Regions from separate parts of the Homo sapiens genome. Here all the other regions are linked to region 2. Evidence: promoter capture Hi-C in 16 types of primary human blood cells and fetal thymus (Javierre and others, 2016). All regions are on one chromosome and are shown on one strand. Each heading gives the region's core, a stretch centred on a gene start or on the middle of the fragment in contact. The rest is flanking DNA. Distances are from core to core; before and after follow the strand shown. Region 1 overlaps LOC124906087 (a long non-coding RNA gene). Region 2 holds the start of XIRP2 (xin actin binding repeat containing 2). Region 3 overlaps B3GALT1 (beta-1,3-galactosyltransferase 1).

The links. The method cuts DNA at HindIII sites, captures the fragments that hold promoters and counts their contacts. A CHiCAGO score of 5 or more calls a contact.
Region 1: a fragment that was not itself captured here is called in contact with the fragment with the promoter of XIRP2 in region 2 in 1 of 17 cell types (fetal thymus); the score reaches 6.0 in fetal thymus.
Region 3: a contact is called between a fragment that was not itself captured here and the fragment with the promoter of XIRP2 in region 2, in 1 of 17 cell types (neutrophils). The highest score is 5.3, in neutrophils.

The regions. Positions count from the first base shown.
Region 1 is chr2:166,542,439-166,545,138 of GRCh38, reverse strand. All of the region lies in intron 1 of LOC124906087 (a long non-coding RNA gene), which reads right to left. Among named protein-coding and RNA genes, the nearest start is that of SCN7A, 50 kb to the right of the region's middle. The HindIII fragment of the contact is 7,882 bases long and covers 1-2,700 here.
Region 2 is chr2:166,887,052-166,889,751 of GRCh38, reverse strand. XIRP2 (xin actin binding repeat containing 2) reads right to left here and starts at 1,272. Exons shown (of 11, transcript NM_152381.6): 1 at 1,195-1,272. The HindIII fragment of the contact is 3,763 bases long and covers 1-2,311 here.
Region 3 is chr2:167,385,062-167,387,761 of GRCh38, reverse strand. The region is part of intron 1 of B3GALT1 (beta-1,3-galactosyltransferase 1); the gene reads right to left. Among named protein-coding and RNA genes, the nearest start is that of B3GALT1, 93 kb to the right of the region's middle. The HindIII fragment of the contact is 1,721 bases long and covers 400-2,120 here.

The sequences.
Region 1 (2,700 bases), core at 48-2,547, 340 kb after region 2:
AGATTTATCTCTCAGTGACCAAAATACTCCTGTGAAATTATAAGTACTATGTTATTTTTAATGCAATTTCAAAATTTTATATGTTGCCAACAGTTGGTGTAAAATTACACTTTCCAATAAAGAGAATGGTCTGAATTAATGACTCAGTTAGAGCACATTTATTCGTCAAGTTTTATTTTTACAAAATAGATCCACTAAAATAAGTTTGACTAAGCTACTAAAATAAGTCTGTCTATTAAGCAATATTATTTGCAATTATGCTTTGCTGGTGTGTCATCAAAAGAAAAAAAGTGGCTTAAGTCTTCTAAAAGCTATAATTTTGTCATTTTAAACTTTAAAAATCTTGACTAGCAACTAGCAGATTAAAAATAATTTGCATGAGTTTAGGAAAGTAATTTTTGAAACATCACTTGGGGACTTGAATATACTTACACATGCTAAGGCTTCATTGGAGAAAATAATTTATTTTAACTGACTTTACACGAATCTCCCTACGTCTTACACTTACTTATTTTTTTGTTTTTAATGAAAAAGAAGATAAGGAAACCAGTTAACTCTTTGAGATAGGCTCTGTACGTCAGAGAAATATTGATTATACAGACAATCTGGAAAGAAAAAATTAAAAAAAAAAACATAGAAATACCCCAAAACAAGATAAACATCTAGGGAACCAGAAATGAAATTAGATGTAAAAATAGAAAATAGGATCTAAACTTTAGATTTATTAGACTTTGTCTCCAGTGGCAGGCAGAGTAGATAGGGAGTAACCGAGACTAAAAATGGTTCATAGGGGTGGACACTGAATCCAGGCCCGCCAAATAAAGGGGGCAAAGAAAGGCTGTAATTATTCCCAAGGAAATGACTTCCACAAAGAGGGACACCTAAAGATGTGGGAAAAAAATTAAAAAATCTTCCCACTGAAGACTAGTATGAACCTGCTTACTAAACCATGCTGTGACCTGAGATATCCCCAATAATCCTCCGAAGATTAAAGCGCTGACACTATCACATCTGGTTATATGTAAGGAACTATAATATCCAAATTGAGACACTCAAAACTACAGTCAAGAGAAACGTGAGCACAAGAGAGAGAGAGACAGAGAACAAATGCCACTATAGATGTGCCTGCAAACCCAAATTCCAACACAAATGGGAAATGATTGCTAAGAACAATAGGTAACAAAATCAAAATTCAAGAAGTTGTCACTTCAGATACAATATAAAATGATAGATCTAAGGTGACCTAAAATGACTATATTGCAGATTATCAAAGGCATAAGAGAACACTAGGAAACACCAGAGCAGGATGACATTAAACAGAACTAGTTTCAAATGTTAGATATTAAAAATGTAATATTAAAATCAACAAAATTTAAAAAGAGATTGTTTAGGTTGAAAAGAGACATAGCCAAAGAATGAATTCAAATATTTGCTTATCATAATAAATGCACAACAAACATGTAAGACATAGTAAACTTAAGAGCAAAAACACAAAGACGATCAGAGCCCAATGATACATTTAGAGAAATCTAACATTTTTCCTTCCTTGTCTTCTTTCCTTCCCTCCATTCTTCCTTCCTTTTTTCCCTCCCTCCCTTCCTTCCTTCCTTCCCCCTTCCCCTTTCTTTCTTTTTTTCTTTCTTTCTCTCTCTTCTCTCTCTTTTTCTTTCCTTCTCTCTTTCTTTCCTTCTCTCTCTCTCTTTCTTTCCTTCTCTCTCTCTTTGTTTCTTTCCTTCTCTCTCTTTCTTCCCTCTTTCTTTTGTTTATTTATTTTGAGACAGGGTCTTGATCTGTAGCCCAGGTTTGCAGATCACTGCAATCTCAACCACCTAGGCTCAAGTCATCCTTTCACCTCAGCCTCCCAAGTAGTTGGGAATACAGGCATGCACCACTGCACCCTGCTAATTTTTTTTTTTTTTTGTAGAGACAGAGTTTCACCATGTTGCCCAGACTAGATAGATCTAATTCATCTCTAATAGGAATACATGAGAAATGAAATTGAGAAAGAAGTAAACAAACAATTACCCAAAGAGTTAAGACTGAGAATATTCTAGGATGAATAGAATGAATCTTCTGATGGAAAGCACACATAGAACAATAAGCAGGAGAGACAAGCATTAATCATTATATACATATAAGGGTATATATATATGATATAAGGGTCTTGGTGGAGTAATAAACAATTGCAACAGTAAATAATTGTTGCAAGAATAAGTAATGACAAAGAATTTTACATTTAGAAACATTAGAGGAGATTTCCTTCTCCTTACTGTGTACCCATTGGTTAAAATGCTCCATATGTCCATTTTAAAATATTAAATAAAATGTTCAGAACTTTAAGCAGCAGATAGATATTAGGTGGCTTTTTTCTTCCTTTCATTCTTTTTTTCCCTTTTAGTTATTTTTCTTTTGGAGCTCAGTTTCAAATCACTGAGTTAATCATATTTTAAAACTAAAAAACACATTGCCGTCATTAATCTCTGCCAATCATCCTTTTATTTTTGTCTTTCTTTCATGAACACTATTCTTATTCCCCTCATCTCAAAGATAATTTGCTTGATGCATGCCCTTGAATATAGCTTTTTAAAATATGTAATATGTTTTGTGGATATATGTATTTTCAATTTACCTGTGTGGTGAAAATATCATCCTGTTTTCTACTTTTCTTATCCAGACCCCGATAAGGGATCTTTCAGTGTT
Region 2 (2,700 bases), core at 23-2,522:
ACATCAAGAACCCCAAGCAGGTAGGATAGACAACCAGAAAGGTCAAACAAGTGGATCTGGACAGGCTAAAGGAGCTTTTAAGGAGAAAATGCACTAGCAGGAGAGACAGAGCAAGCCAAGGTGGGCCTTGCCTGGCTGGTGATCATCTGGAAACAGTGGGAGAAGGCTGCAAGGAAGAAGGAAGTGGAGAGGAAAGCAAAATATGGTGCCACATTGTTGGGAAAATGAACATGGTTGCTCCCCTTGAATAAATAAACGCCACCTGCAGGAGGAGAGGCCAGGGACCTGGGCCAGAACCTCTGCTGTGTCTCACCTACCCTGTGCCCTGGCTCCACTGCAGCAGCCCTTCAAGGCCAGAAGCCCCATGGCCTGGGACATCCTCTTCATCTTGGCACAGAAATTGTTTAGGGAGGTGTCTGGGGGCGAGTGGGGAGAGAGTGGAGGAGGGACAGCTGTCATCTCTGAGATAGAAAGGTGCAGGAAAGCATTTCATATGTAACAATTTGAATGTTTTTTGCTGTTTTTAGAATTCAGAACCCTTGTTGGAGTGCCTAAGAAGTGGGGTAAGAAGAGCTTCCATTTGTCTGCTAGATCACATGTTAGTGGGTGGTTGTGCCAGGAGGCAGCTGCTGAGGGGTTTGCAACAACCACCCTGGTCTGTGTGCCTGAATGCTTATTCAGAATGGGGCTGTCAGCTGCAGGCTCATGCCCTTGGGTCCCTGAGGGTCATGGCTTTGTCCCTGGCGAGTCCTCTCTGACCTGACTCAATGGAACGAAGGAAGAAAGGAGAATTGCCCAGATGCTTTCTTTGGGTGATGCTGTTTTTGTTAAATTTCTTCCCCAGAAGTCCCTGACTATCTTTCAGTGTCCAAAAATATAATATATAGCCAAACTTACGTGTTTTGAGTCTGAGAGATTAACTATTTTTTCTCTGGGCACATTGCTGCCCCAGATTAAATTGTTTCTTAGTTAGAAAAACAAATGAATAACTAGAGATTCTAGCAGCAGTGTCTGTCACTAAGCGCTAGCCTGAATTTGTTGATGATGCTGTGATTCTATGCTAATTTAATGTATATTACTTAAAAGAAATAGGGAGAGAGAGGCAAAATAGTGTCCTGTCAGAAACTATCAAAGAGAAGCATGTATGTGTAGAAAAAATTATGAAAGAAGTGGTTTTTCTTAGGAAAATCTTACCTTTTTTCTACATGTCCCAGTCCCTACCAGATGTTCCCTTTTGTCTGCCTAGAGACCTGCCAGATTTCTCCAAATAATCCTGACTTCCTGGATACACCCACATAGAAACAGGTCGGGTTCTAGAAGAATTTGTCTGCTCCATGTTCCATCAGAATCAGATTATCTCATTATTTTGGAACAAGTTAATCTGCTGCAGATGAATTAATGAATGCTGCTGAGTTAGCTATTATCATTTTTTTCCTACATATTCTTAAAGGTATGTTTTAACCCAAAGACCCATAGTGACCAATGGCTCACTCTATGGCTGAGCTACACTTTAATTATCACTGTGCGTCAGGTTCCATACATATAAAAATAAACCTAATATTTAATTCAAAGTCATTTGTGAGGGGTTGGGACACCTGAGAATTTTGGATAATGATCATGAACATAGAGTCCAGATTCAAACCAAATGGCTTCAAATTCCTACTCAAACACTAGTATATGACATTAGATGCATTATTTAATATATCCAAACATTAGTTTCCTCACTTGAAAATTGGGATGATAATAGTATGTTCTAACTATACTGTTGTGAGATGAACAAAATAAATGAAATCACGCTCATAAAGAACTTAGGATAGTGCTTGGTATGAAGCAAGTGATCAGCGGATGTCAGCTTTTATTAGCAGTATTTAAGTATAGTTATTTGCAACCAAAAAGTGCTTAGCGATATCAGTTATCATCTTCTACAAATTATAGGAGACCACAGCTTCTGAGATAATTTTATTTTATTTTACATATAGTAAGCTATATACTATTTCAAATAAGTAAAGTCTTTCTCTTCGCAGACTCTAATTGCAGAGTCTAATTTGATTCTTATTTGGTCATCTAATAGCTCTTTGTTCCAAACTGGGGTTTTTATATATAAGGGGTTCAGTGATATACTACTAAAGACAATGTTGATTTTTTTGCATAAAGGAATTCAATAGCAGAAATGCATTTTAATATAATAAATTAAATCTTACAACTTTAATCAATGAATTTTCATATATAAAAATGACCATAAATTATATAAATAACTGCAGTGCTTAGCCAGTATTCAAACTGTAGGTTTCAGAAATCTTGTTTGAAAGCTTAAAATATAGGGCAGTTATGATATGGTATTTGGAGACGATACAGGGTGTGATATAAAGGTTCGACTACAAGGCTAATGTTATAAACTGGTCACATTTTGAACTGCAAATTCTGGTGACTTAATTATTTTTCCAAGAGTTTGCCAAAGTCAATAAAGAACAATTAGCTCAACATCTATGAACTTAAAAAGGACTTAGACATTCTGCTATATTAAAAAGACTAAATGCAGTACTTATCTTGGTGTGTTTCTTGTTTCTACTCTGGGAAGATTAAAAAACAGATAACTTTAGAAATTACAGACCTGTCAGCATCAGTATTTAGTTGAAAACTTACTGAAACATATCATCAAAAAATCAATTTTCAAGCACCTAGAAAATCATGAGTTACTGG
Region 3 (2,700 bases), core at 11-2,510, 500 kb before region 2:
AAAATATGACCACAGTATTGTATGGCTTAGTTATTTAACCTAAATTAAATGCACGTAAATAAGCACATTCTATGATTTCACTAGTAAATAGGTGTATTTAAAATGAAATATGCAAGTAACAAATTGATTCATTAGTAACGAATTGATTCAGACCCTCTTTCGAAGTTTTTACAGCAAGTGTAGTGGTTACTAAAGTAAGAAGATAATGTTGAGTTAAATGGCTCAGTTTTCTTTACCATCATTTCCCTTTGTAATTTCCCTCAGTCTTTTTTGGCACAAATAAGATATTTTGCAGTTGAATGTATAAAAGAGAAGCCACAATGAGACTTTATATGATGAGATAACATATCGCCTCCTCTACAGGGCCTTATCCAGATCCAATTTTACAATTTTGAAGCTTCATTATATGACTCTACTTAATTAATGTAACATCTGATTTTATTAGATTTTTCCCAACTGACAAAATCAAATGGTTTCTTTAATGCAATAATAAAACTAATTTAATTTTACATGTATTTTTCTATTTATTCTAGCAGTGTCATAAATCTGAGTTTAGGGATGGCATATTGTTGATCAAAATGCTAATGACAACAATGACAGCCTACCATATCTTTTAATGCCCTCTCTTGGCAGAATTAAATAAATACAACAATGCCAAGTACATCAGACCAGCAATGAAGACTCCCTGGTTCTAACACTGGTTTCCAAGGCAGTTTCCTTACCCATGAAATGATATGATATGATATGATGAGACTACCTACCAGTATTGAAATCTGTGTTCCACAGAGCCCTAAAGCAACCAAGGAGTCACTCAAGCGGCAGAGGAGGTGAGAGACAGTTAACGCAGCTTCGACTTCATCCAGTCTTCTCTTTCATCTATTTTACAGTTAGGGCTACTTTTATTTGGGGAAAAATGGTTTAAGTTTCTAAAACTAGTTTGAAACACCATTAGAAGAAAGATTGGCTAAAGACTTCTCTAATTCCAGAAGCGGAAGGATACTTTACAATAAGATGTAAGTTCCTATTTTGTGTGACCCAAGCCTGACTGGAAAGCTGAATTTGCATGTCAGACACTGATACTGTATGGACTTTGATATGAGAGGAGAAAATCTCACAGCAGTATAAGGCTAGTAACATGATTTGAGACTATCACTTACATTTATAATCCAGTATAGTATGTCATCATTACTTCAAAAACTTTCAGAAAAAAAAAATTTCAATACCTGGTGATATCCCAGGTGTACTGAGAATCTAAAGAAAACAGGAGATAGCTGCATTGTTACATATTTTGAAAACATATTCCTGGGTTACTCTGTTGCTCACCTTCAATTAAGAACCATTATTTATACTACTGTTTTGTGTGTTTTCACTCATTTTCTATTGGATTTCCCACCATAAAATTAATACCACTATTTGCAGTAATCTAATCACCTGGGTTTGGGAAGCAGAATTTTTTTTTTACCATAAAGAACGTTCTTTATAAAGAGTGAGCAGTGCAATCTTAAAAAAAAGGCCTGCTCAGGTACCCAGAGCAGTTTCAAACCATAGCTGAACTTCATTAGTGCTACTGAGGAAAGGCATTGCTAAATTCCTGCTGAAGAAAAGATAACCAGAGTTCCTACTGTGTATCAATCTCAAGTCTCGTCTATGTCAGTTAGCAAAAGCCACTTAAAGGCTTAGCATCTCCTTGAAGGGAATTAACCTGTTTTGACTTCTCAACTGCAATATGCAATACAATGAAGAAAGATAAAAAGTTAAAAGAGCTAAGAAACTGGGTAGTATTTGTTTTACTTGAAGTATGTTTCCCAGGAATATAAATGAAAGTTTATAAACAGTTCTCCTTTCAATCATTACTGTGTTTATATGCTGGAAAATTGGGGAGATGGGTTGATAGAACCCTTTTAATCCTCATCCTCCAAGAAACCTGAGGCCGAGCTGCAAAGTGGAATTCGATGGTAGTCAAAGGGTTGTTTTGGATAGAAACCTGTGCTAGTGGTGTCCACCAAGTCAGCAATTTTGGTGAAAAAAAAGGTGTCTAATACGGCAGCATCTCTGAAGTTATGCTTTCTTGTTTCCAGTCCCAATTTTGTTATTTCCTAGCAGTATGGTCTTTGGAAGCTTCCATAAACCCTCTGCCCCTCAGCTGCCTGATCAGCAAGTTATTAGTGAAAGCTAGTCTTTGTTCCTACCATTGCTACCCAAATCAATCCATCACAGGCCTGACTTTTCAGGCTAGGAGAAATTGTACATACAATAAATTCAAATATTTACTGAGCATGTACCAAGTAATGGGTACTCTATTAGTGCCAGGGAGTGGTGGTTATAAAAAAGATACAATTTCACCTAAGAGAGGAAGACAGGTAAATAACTCTAAACAGGGTGTTAAGTTTAAATACAGTTACACTAAAGTGCTATTAGGGAGTGATTAATTCTGTGTCAGGGAAGAGCTGGTTCAGGAAGAATTCTTGGGGAAGCAGAATGTGGGCAGAATGTTAAAAGAGAGTTGGAAGTAGACAAACAGAGTAGGTGGAAGAGCATTTGTGGTAGAAAGAACAGCATAGGCAAACACTTGGGAGTTAGAGCTCCTGTTCTTTGGGGAGAATGACAAGAAAGCAGAGGTTCTGAGATCTCAGTGGTGCTGAGTTGGCAGCCTTGCTTCCCAAATTTTACTAAACTTCCCCAAGCCTCAATTTCTTCCTC